Linked DNA regions of Homo sapiens: all the other regions are linked to region 1. The links are contacts of gene promoters, found by promoter capture Hi-C in human tissues and cell types (Jung and others, 2019). All regions are on one chromosome and are shown on one strand. Each heading gives the region's core, a stretch centred on a gene start or on the middle of the fragment in contact. The rest is flanking DNA. Distances are from core to core; before and after follow the strand shown.

What was found. Contacts are between HindIII fragments. The study calls those that stand out against the background at their distance.
Region 2: a contact is called between a fragment that was not itself captured here and the fragment with the promoter of NT5DC1 in region 1, in 1 of the 25 tissues and cell types used here (dorsolateral prefrontal cortex).
Region 3: a contact is called between a fragment that was not itself captured here and the fragment with the promoter of NT5DC1 in region 1, in 1 of the 25 tissues and cell types used here (dorsolateral prefrontal cortex).

The regions. Positions count from the first base shown.
Region 1 is chr6:116,098,993-116,102,757 of GRCh38, forward strand. NT5DC1 (5'-nucleotidase domain containing 1) reads left to right here and starts at 1,861. Exons shown (of 12, transcript NM_152729.3): 1 at 1,861-2,031. The coding sequence starts at 1,939. It also overlaps a transcript of FRK not described here. RefSeq lists enhancers at 1,521-2,043, 2,044-2,564 and a silencer at 1,677-1,936. The HindIII fragment of the contact is 5,791 bases long and covers 1-3,765 here.
Region 2 is chr6:114,118,947-114,122,711 of GRCh38, forward strand. All of the region lies in intron 3 of HS3ST5 (heparan sulfate-glucosamine 3-sulfotransferase 5), which reads right to left. The region is part of intron 6 of HDAC2-AS2 (HDAC2 and HS3ST5 antisense RNA 2); the gene reads left to right. Among named protein-coding and RNA genes, the nearest start is that of HDAC2, 150 kb to the left of the region's middle. The HindIII fragment of the contact is 4,983 bases long and covers 1-3,765 here.
Region 3 is chr6:114,734,915-114,738,679 of GRCh38, forward strand. No RefSeq gene overlaps it. Among named protein-coding and RNA genes, the nearest start is that of LNCPOIR, 190 kb to the left of the region's middle. The HindIII fragment of the contact is 3,469 bases long and covers 114-3,582 here.

The DNA of each region.
Region 1 (3,765 bases), core at 611-3,110:
TCTAGCACAAGAACTGTTTGTGCAAACATGCAGAATATATATAATTTGTTAATCAGCAAGTACATAAGATTGTTGATGTGCATGTAATAGCCAGATCCAGTCCCAGGACCACTTGGTTATCGACCCAGGGGTCTTTTTCTCTTTAAGAGTGCCCTGGTTCCCTCTCTCCCCTTACCCCAAGTCAATTTCCTGTTCACAATTCAGCACACTCAAGAGGTTTTGTAAGGAGAAGTTTTTGCTAAGTCAACAAAAAACAATCCTTTTATACTCTTCCCTCTTACAATGAATGTACTAGTACATTTGTATTACTAAGGGAAGTCCCTAAAGTACCTAAAGCACCTACTCCCACATGAAACAAGATATTCCCCAAGGAAACATGTGCCCTTCAATGTGGCATGCACCTGGAAGTTTGACTTTGGTAGCATTCTATTGCAAGGTGCAGAGGAGAATGCCAAGGTCAATGCTCCAGGGCCAACAAGCTTTTTCCAGCCTCTCCAACAATCCAGCCTTTTCTCTTTTGGTTCACAGACATTGAAAACATGATTGTTGGACTCATCAGTGAACAGCTTAATCTTCTTGAAGATTCTTTACTTTTCCTATTCCAGAGAGATTTGTTTGGGGCTTTTAAGTGTTATAATGGAACAAGTTATCAATTTTATTCAAATGGGTCTACTAGGTATAAGTGTCCTCCTACTCAATTGTACTATCTATTGCACTAAATTAATCCTCTGATTGGTCTATTAGCCTCAGAAGGATTAGTATTTGAAAGGGTTAAATGCAGTTCTCAATCAATTATATTTTCATTATGTCACGACTATTGATTTGTCCCATTAGACACATTGTTCCTTTAAATTGAGAACTGAAGCAGTGTAAACATAATAGATTTGTATTTTCTTTTTAAAATGAGGTACTATGTAATAAAGATCTCAAAGTGCTAGTCCTTCACATCCGGAAATCAGGAAGAGAATTAAATGCCCTAAGGCATACATTGTATGTAATGGATTAACTTTCTCTGCATCTAAAATGGTAGTAGTTATACAGTTCTTGAGAGAATTAAGCAAATGTCACTCAAAACATTTTGTGCTCTATAAACCTTAAACCCGGTTTGCAAAAGTTTTTTGTAGTATGCTCTATATATTTCTATGAAGTTTCTGATGCCCTTTCATAAAAAATTCATTACAATAACAAAATAGGATTATCAAGTAATAACCAATATTGGTTTCCATAACAAGTATCATCTTGCAAAATGGTTCTTCACGATGTCTGATACATTTATTTTCTAACGCACTCCAGGGTATGAAATAGTGAAAGGTCTGTCTTCCACTTAACCACTTAGGAAACCAAGGAATATAAAGTTTTTGGTTTAAACCACTATCAAAGATCACGTGGGTGAAAAGACCTTCCAAATTGTAGGCTAACTGGGTCAGAGGGATATTAGCGGATGAATTTTTTCTATGATCTTACTATTCCTCACACAGGGGTAAAAGGTCAGGTCTAACCTCATGATCTCCTGGTTTCCGAGGCGCCCTGAGGCGATGGAGTGTCCCGGTTAATTTTGTGGTAGCCCTCGGGAAAGGCTACGTGCCTACAGGTCTCAGCTGTGCAGCAGCGGCACCGCTCCTGGACCCCTACTGCCTTCTGGGCTCCTAGGCTTGCGGAACAGATCAGGAGTCGCCGGCATTGGGGTACCAGGAGGACGCGAGCTGACTACCTGACTCCGGGCGGCGCAGGACGCCCGCCGCGCGAGGGGCGGGGGCTAAGCGTATCGAGGGGCGGTGCTCGAGGGCGCGGGAGGCGGGAGAGGCTGCCGCGCCGTGTGCCCTGGCAGCCGCAGCCCCGCCCCGCCGCGTCCGGCCCGGTCCTGTCCCGCAGCGTCCCGCCAGCCAGCTCCTTGCACCCTTCGCGGCCGAGGCGCTCCCTGGTGCTCCCCGCGCAGCCATGGCTCAGCACTTCTCCCTGGCCGCCTGCGACGTGGTCGGATTCGACCTGGACCACACTCTGTGTCGCTACAACCTGCCCGAGAGCGCCCCGGTGAGTGGCGCGGGCTCCGGGGCGCACTGCGCGCAACCTCCATGGCGGCTGGGGCTTGAGTTTCCTCCAGGTTTGGGCAACGGCGGACGCTGCCCGGGGCCTGCGGCGGCCGAGTCTTGCCGCAGAGCGCGGCCTCCAGCGGCGAGAAGGGGCGGAAGTGTGCAGCCTCCGCTCCGCGCCGGTGCCGTGGGGACCGGCACATTTACCTCAGCCATTAGCTAATGTTGAGAGGGATAGGGAAGAACGAAGGAGGGGCAAACTGCGCAAGACCGGGCTGGGGAATCGGTGATTTCTAGGGCCGAGGAGGGGCGGGGTCAGGGGGACTAGGGCTGTCCTTGAAGATCTCACGTCGTGGAACTTTCTCTGCATGTCTTTCTGGACACCAGCTGATTGTGGACACAGCCACTTGATTTGGTACTTGCATTTTTTTTGGCTGCATTTTTCTGTTTGCACGATCAACCACCCATCAGTGTTTAAACTGCAATCTGGGAGAGATGCGTAGTATATAGTGTAGTGTATTGAAAGGAACACTAGTTGAAAAGTCATTAAGATCTTAGCCCTAGTTTTACCTTCTATCAAGAGAAGAAAATACATATTTATTGCGCATCGACTACGTGCTCCGTGCACTTTGAATACATTCCAGTCCTACCAACAGTCTGCGAAGTTTGGGTCCTCACTGTGCCCTGAGGGAGGGGGACATGGAGTATGCATGCTTCCAGACCTGTACACTCAAATTAATTGCCCTCCCTCCACTATTCCTTTGGTTTCCCAATTCCCAAGGAAACTAATTTTGAAAAGTTACCAGATTTTTTTAGTCCAAGATCTAAGCATCCAGACAGAAAAAGAGCTGGTTATGAGTACAGTGGTGAAAGCGAGGACTCCTCAGCCAGACTGCCTAGCTTAGGACACCAGCTCCACTGTTACTAGCTCTGTGACTTCGAGGAAGTTACTTAACCTGTGCTGCTTCTCAGTTTCCCCATCTGTAAAATGGAGCTAATAATTGGATTTACCTCACAAGATTGTTGCAAGGATTAAATGAGTAAGAGATGTATAATGCTTAGAATAGTACCTTGGCAAAGACAAGTGTTTGCTTTTATGGTTACCACCCAAACTATTTGGAAACCTCACAGTTTATGGGTAGAACTCTAGATCACTGGTGCAGACATCAGCCAGGGTTGTGCCCCATTATGGGCACCCGCCAGTTCCTGCACCCACCAGTTCAGGTACACGTTAAAGGTCAAAAAAGAGTGGCTGCCCGAATTTCTCGTGTGTTTTCTATGCCCAGATGCTAAATTTTTTTTTAAATGTCCTTTTTCTGCTGTTACACTTTCCTGCTTTCTTACCTTACAGGTCTGGTTTCCTTAGTCACATTGAGAATTAAGAAGGCTTTTTTACTGCTTGATTCTTTGGCCACTGCTTCCCCTAGGTCTTTGATACATGTTTTCCTTCCCTCTGTGTCTTTCGAATCCTTCCTGGTTCACAGTTTTGTGTGTCTCCTCTTTAGTTACCTTCATTTGGAGGTAATATTGTTAAACCACTGTCATGTTAGAGCTAGTGTTGTCCATAGGTGATCATAAAATTTCAGAATATAAGATTCTCAAAGACAAGAGGTTTTTTTACTGCAAACCTGGAGAATAAGTGATGTTTAAAGCTTGAAAACAGTAACCTATTGAGTTTTGGATCATGTTTGGTGTGGAAATCTTTTTTATTTTAAGTCCCACAGTGTGCTGAGCA
Region 2 (3,765 bases), core at 389-2,888, 2.0 Mb before region 1:
GGAACACAGGAGTACCCAAGCCATGATGGATATGTAGCATGAGAAAGAGAAAAACATATATTATAAACCACTTAGATTGCAGGGTTGTTTGTAATCAAAGCATAACATGTACTGTCCCTATGAGACAATTCACCTGATTCAAAAAGAACGAAGGCACTAAAGGAGTAAGAATAGCAAAGCATAAGAAGAGGCACACAGTGAATGGATGCCCACAAACCTAAAGGGAAAAGTAGAATGCAAAGTGCCTGAGGGACGATAAACAAGACAGTAGAGAAGTTATTTCATAGGGGTGAGTCAGCCAAAGTCTTTCCTTACACAGATGGCAACACTGGCATGGTGGTTGGACCACCATTGGGAGACTCATCCATTTGATAGATGACAGAACTTTTGTTCTGATAAAATGGCAGAATCTGATAAATTCTTGACTTCCAGAAAATAATGTGACCTTTCTTTTAAAACCAACAATGTGGTCTTTCAAAAGTTGGGGAGGCAGTGAGGGGAACTGCAAATTGAAATTAAACTGCCTCAATAAGGAAGAACTGTGTAATGTTAAGGACAACATGAAAAACCTAGGAGATTAAGTAGCAACCAACATAGGGAGAGCACTGCACACAGAATTGCACTCTAGCTTTTAGAGAAGCGAATATGAAAGATTTAGAGAAGAGATATTTGTGATATCCTAATTATAAATTTTAAAAGGGTTTGGAACTCTGGCAGGATGGGAAGATTTAGCATATTCAATTACAATAATGTCACAAATAATCCTGATTAGGAGCCCTCAATCTTTGCTGGATACTACATGCTTCACCAATTCATTCAACAAATGTTTATCGAGTAACTACTGGGAGTTAGAAATTATGTCAAAATGTTGGGGTTCAAAGAGGACATCGGTCCTGCCCTCAGGAAATTTACAGTAAAGCAAGAGAGATAAACAATAAAGAAGTAATCCCAGCACTTTGGGAGGCCAAGGTGGGTGGATCTCAAGGTCAGGAGTTCGAGACCGGCCTGGCCAACGTGATGAAACCCCGTCTCTACCAAAAATACAAAAATTACCCAGGTGTGGTGACATGTGCCTGTAATCCCAGCTACTCAGGAGGCTGAGGCAGGAGAATCACTTGAACCTGGGAGGCAGAGGTTGTAGTGAGCCGAGATCGTGCCATTGCACTCTAGCCTGGGTGATAGAGCGAGATGCTGTCTCAAACAAAACAAAACAAAACAAAACAAAAAACAACAAAAAAAACCCCAAATAAACAATGAACAGACAAGCCCCCAGTAGCATTTATTAAATATTTAGTATTCATTAGTGATTATGACTGTACCTTTACCTGATTTTTTTCCCCTAACTATAAGCCTCTAGATAGGAGTAAACAGGAGAAACTGAGGTACAGAGAAATGAAGTAATTTAGCCCTACATTTATACAGTAATTGTCCAAACTATGACAGAAAGTCAATCTTCTATGATTTCAATGTCTGTATTCTTTCAACCATACTTTGATGCCTTTCATATCTAACTTTGAGATTACATATACTGTTTTTACATTTTAAAAATGTTTGTGTGTGTGTGTGTAAAATGAACAACAGATTTATCTCACACACAAAAAATACTTCTTTATGTGATTATTTTGGTCATTTTTTTCAGTTCAATTGGAAAATAGTTATAGAAAATCAGGGGACATTAATGATTTATAGGCTATGATTTGAGAACCTTTCTAGTAAGTCACATGGAAGATATAAAGTTGCTTTTCAGCAGAGTCTAAAAATACTTAACAGAGAAAAAAAGGATACTCTTAGAGAAAAATAACAAAATCCTCTCTAAAAATACAAGCAGCGATCAAATTGGTTTTACAAATGTATAGGTGAGGGTAGAAATTTCTTATTTTTAAGAGGATTTTGTTCTTTTTCTTTAGGGCTTGAATTCCACGAATTAAAAAGGGAGGTCTTACATATTTCTTTTTTCAGAAGTCCCAGTAATGTACACCTATAATTGGAGGAATTTTGGCATCTGAGAATATAACTCAGCATTTATTATAAGCCAAACAGCTAAATTGATTTTAGCATTCTGGAAGAATAATTGCACCTTTGGTGCTGAATTGCTTCCCTATGAGCATTGAGCCAAATATTAATGTACATTTGAAAGGAAACAAAAAACTTTCAAACTCTAATGTACCTCAGGCTTATAAATCGGAATCCAGTCACTTTAAATTAAGTTGGATTTCTTGAAGCAAAAGTACTCTTATTATTTTTGTATCACTGTTCTGACCCACAGTTTATACATCACATAACAGTGTTCTAAGCTTTTCAAATACAATAGAAATCTCCACGTGGGAGGTTTCTGTGATATTGCTCACTCCACCTAACACAAGCAACCACCACAGTGTCAACTCAACTCCTAGGACGTCCAAAAGACAGGTGATATTTATTCCACTCAGAGTTCTTTCTGTAATGCAGTGCATCAAGGACAAATTTACTGCCTGTTAATTCTTTTACATATTTTTTGCATTAAAGAAAAATTTAAATTTCTTAATAAGCAAAAAAAGGAAAAATGTATAATCTAATTACCTAACAAAAAAATTGGTAATATCTTGGTTTGTGACTTTCCAAACCCTTTTCTTTGTAGATAAATAAAATTTTCTTTTTATAAAAAATACAATACTAGTATTTATTACCTTATTTTTTCACTTAATCACATGTTAAAAGAATATTTACAAATAATTTAACATAGTTGTATAGTATTAGTGCATGGCTTCCCATATTTTTAAAAAAACAACCACTGTATTTGAATATTTAAGTTGTCTCCAATATTTTGTTATTATCACATCATTCCTTAGCATATCTGCCATAAAACAAATTGAATGTTTATTTTTATTTATTTATCTGTATATTTGTTTATTTTTAGCAAAAGTTAAAAATAACATTTTGGAGGTGGGAATACAATTTTGGGTGATAAGGAGTTAATGAATATTAGATCTTAGTTCTGACAGCGTGTCCTACCTTCTTCCTGCTGGAAGTCCTGTCCCAGGCCCCACCTGGGTGCTAGATGCCAGGCGCTGCTACCTTCTATGCCCTTGCTTCGCTCCTTGTCGAGACTGGGGCTCTTCCCTGACCCAGTCCAGACATCACCCCCTGTCCCTGGGGATGAACCTGTCTTGCATAATACTTGAAGGGAAGGTCCAGCTGGGATTGTCTGTCACTCTGCTTAGCCAGCCTTGCTAAGCTGACAGTTTCCAGAATGTGTGATGAGCCCTTAGAGTCATGCTTTGGTACCTGGAGCCCTCAGGAGCCACTCTGCAGGATACCCATATCATCCTTTGAGGCTGACCTTTGGGGGCTGTGCGTAAACATTTCATCATTCACATAAGCATTCATTAATTCACCTATCACACAATTTAGTGAGATCCTACTTTTCAGTAGATTTTGTCTGGGTCTGGAGACACAAGTGTGAATAACATAAACTCTACCCTCATGGGGTGGGGCTAAGTTTCAGAACTCCCAGGGAATTCTGAGCCAAGAGAGAAGGTATTTATGGCATCCAGTTAGAAAATCTCTGGAATTCTAAATTTTCAACAGGGTGGTAGATTACATTTAGTTTGGAACAATTGTGGCATTAGGTATTTTTATTTCAATGATTTTCCCTCTTACATTCATAGCAATCCTTGTTAATTCAAGATTGGAAGAGAATAATTCACCTAGGATGTGAAACCTACCCTTCTGTTAACATATGTTACAAATACACTGCAGTGTGAAGAACCAACTATGCCTCCACCA
Region 3 (3,765 bases), core at 598-3,097, 1.4 Mb before region 1:
TCATAATGTTACTGAATCCCATTTGGAAAGCGTAGGAGTGGTGTTATACACTGTTCAAGGCAAGATTCCCTAGGACACTTTTGATTAGGAACCTATCTGACAGCTAAGTTCCATGCTCACTTTCTAAATGTAAGTTTTTTCCTGTTGAGGCGGATCATCCAAGAATATAATCAAGAGCATGTGTAGACTACCCTTCTAACTGTAAATTAATACCATCTCCTTTCCTTTAGCCCTGACTAGTGCTATGCTGGATGTTGCAAAGTATTTCAGAATGGCTACTGTAGGAGTCTGTATTCCAAGTTTTATTTTAGATCAGAGTAAAGCAAAAAAGATGCATTTGCTCTGTCCCATAGGTTGTACTCTCAGAATACAAATACACTATTTAACAGGAGGAGCAGAACCTCTAGGGGCAGCAAACAGGCTGTTTTATTCCAAAATGTTAGGCAAAGCTAATGTCTGGGGCTATCTCTGGACTCCCTACTGCAGTAATGATGAACTTTAGAGATTTGGAGTTTTAGAAATCCATCCTAAGAGGGAGAAACTGGGTCCTTCTTGTGGGAGACCTTAGACGTTCTCCAAAGACAGGAAATTGCTGCTGTAGGAATGATGTCACTACTTAATGAAGGCACTCCCTAGCATACTACAGCACTCTGAAATAAGTTGTGGTAACTTTGGAATGCCAGAAAGAAAATAGACACAGAGCTAATTCCGTCTTTGTTCTTCTCACATAAGCTGGGAAAAAGTGATCAGACAAAACGTGAAGCCTATGCCTGATGCATTCACCAGATATAAACAAACGAAAAACACTAAAGCAGATTCATACCAGGCTTATATCTGAAAAGTCATAACTAGATTCATACCTGAAAAGTTATTGAAGTTACTTTTATTGAATTTTGTCTCTAGGAACAAATTGTGCACATCTGGGCAATAAATACCTGGTGATAGATGATTTAACTCATCATGGTTAGTGTGTCTCACAGGAGAAAAGAAAGTAGCAAGAGTCCACCATAACTAGAGTGTCATGGGAACAAGTTTTCTTTCTTTTTTTTTTTTTTTTTTGAGAGGGAGTTTGGTTCTTGTTGCCCAGGCTGGAGTGCAATAGCACGATCTCGGCTCACCGCAATCTTTGCCTCCTGGGTTCAAGTGATTCTCCTGCCTCAGCCTCCCGAGTAGCTGGGATTAGAAGCATGTGCCACCATACCTGGCTAATTTTGTATTTTTAGTAGAGATGGTGTTTCTCCATGTTGGTTGGACTGGTCTCGAACTCCCGACCTTAGGTGATCCGCCTGCCTCGGCCTCCCAAAGTGCTGGGATTACAGACATGAGCCACCGCGCCCAGCCAAGTTTTCTCTTTTTATAGATTTTCTGGTAAGATTCATTCAAATTAAGGAGTGTATTTTTTAAAAGAGCTTATTTCTAATAAATTTCTCATATTTAAAGTTATAATTTGATAAGCTTTAGTTTGGTGTATACATCCATGTAAACATCACCATAAGAGAGGGAACATAGTTGTCACTCCTTTGAGGTAAGTATAAGACCCAGGGGGAAGACTTTTTATAATGAGAAGAACATTATGCTGATAATAGATTTTTGAGGAATATTAACTTATATAAGGGATAGAAAAAGTGTAAGAGATGAGAAAATAGAAGTCAAAAGAAAGGTAGGAGGAATAACAGTAGGAAGAAACAAATGATGAGGACAGGTTTTAAAAGGCACAGGGTATAAAAGTAATAAAATCAAGTGAATGAAAATGGTAAATATCCACCAGTTTGGCACAGGAAAGCAATTGTGGGAGAGATTTTAATCAAAATGATGAGGGTAAAAATCGTAGTGCCAGTGATTTTGTGGCAATGGGAGGTGAGGAGATGGTAACCTTGAATATAGACTACCCTTTTCAGAAACATGGCTCTAAAGTTCCAGGGAATTATGGTAGTGAGAAAGAATGTAGGGTCCCTGGAGGGTTAAGGGTTCGCTTGTTTGGTCTGTTTTCTATTTTTGTTAATGGTTAATAGTTGTTTACATCTATTGACTTTCAGAGAGATTAAGTAAGAAGATGGTGAAGATAAAATAGAAACAGGGATAATTAAGAGTGTGAGCAAATGAAAAAGAAAAGAAAGAAGACCCAGATAACAAGTGAAATAATTGTTCAGGTTAAGTTAGAAGGGTCCTTCTTCTAACAAATGATGAAGAAAAGAGGTGAATATCTATTTTGGGCAATTTTATCTTTTGATTTTTCTTATATCTCTTTTGTTCTGACTTCTAAGTCAATTGGCTAGGCTTCTGTTTTTCTACCCAAATCTCCTTCTCTTTCTTTCTCTCTCTCTGTCTCTTTCTCTCTCTCTCTCTTTCTCTATTTTTTTTCTTTCTTTCTCTCTTTCTTTTCTCTCTCTTTTTTTAGATGTTCTTAGTAAATGGTACCACCATCAATTCAGGACAACAATCTAAAAGTCATCCTCAATTTGTGCCTTTCCTCTACCTTGTATATGCAATCCGTCAATATATCCTTCAGTGCAACTTTCAAGATACGTTTTGAATGTAATCATTCCTTACTCTCTCTACCACCAACAACCAACTCAAACCATCACTATCTATCTACTGTACTTCTGCTAAAGTTCCTTAATGGGTAGGTTGACCGTAGACAACTTCCTAACCTAAAGAGAGCATTTTCTTTGAAATGGATTAAAAAGATATTTATACTTAAAAGGAGTATTAGAAAAGACCCAAAGGGCCTAAGAGGAATGATCATCCCACTAATGAATTCCCCTGTTTCCATTCTTGTTCCTGTGCAGTCTGTTCTTCATATGACTGCAAGAGTAAAGGGTAATCAAATGGTGCCAGCATTCCTCCTCACCTATTCCCACCTTCAAACTTTTTGGAGACTTCTATTAGACATACAGTTAAAAGCAACTCCCCTCAATAATCTGCAAGGCCTTGCATGAGCTGAGGCCTGATCACCTTTTCCAACTTGTTTCAGATCCTAGGCCCACTGCCCATCTTTCTTTTTTAGAATCCATCAGCCAAATAGTTCTCTTGCCTACTTTATATAGCTAAAAAACAAACAAACAAACAACAACAACAAAAAACAAATTCTGTCATACCTCAGGGCTTTTTCATTTGTTCTTCTTTCAGCTAGGGTGCACTTTTCCTGACTCATCCTATGGGTGGCTGTTTCTGAAGAGTTAAGTCCAAGTTCAAATGTCATCACCTCAGAACATTCCTTCCTCACCACACAAGTAGCACACTTCTAACCTCCCAGACACTATCTACCCTACTACGTGTTTATATTCTTCATAGAGTTTGTCACAACCTATAATTATTATGTATTTTTTGTTTACTTCTGTGTTATTTGTTTTCTTTCACTGATAGGTAATTCCATGAGGTCGAAGTCCATGTCTATCTCAGTCATTATTATGCTCTAGTCAGTGTCTGTATATAGTAACCACCCCTCAAAAACACTTTTTTGAGTGAATATATGGGTAACAAATAATTATATTAGCAATGGGGAAATCAGTGAAAGAATTCTTAGCTAATGGCCTCTACTTTTTCTGAAAGGTAAAAGAAAAATTAATCTACAAAAAAACATGAAGCGTAGTTCAAGAATAGACTAGATTTCAAAAATAGATATGTACACATTACATATGTACATATCTATTACATGTACACATTACATATGTACACATATATGTACACATTACATATGTATGTATTTATTAAGTGATAAAAGTAACACTACTGTATAGTGGGGTTGGGGGAAGAATGATCCTT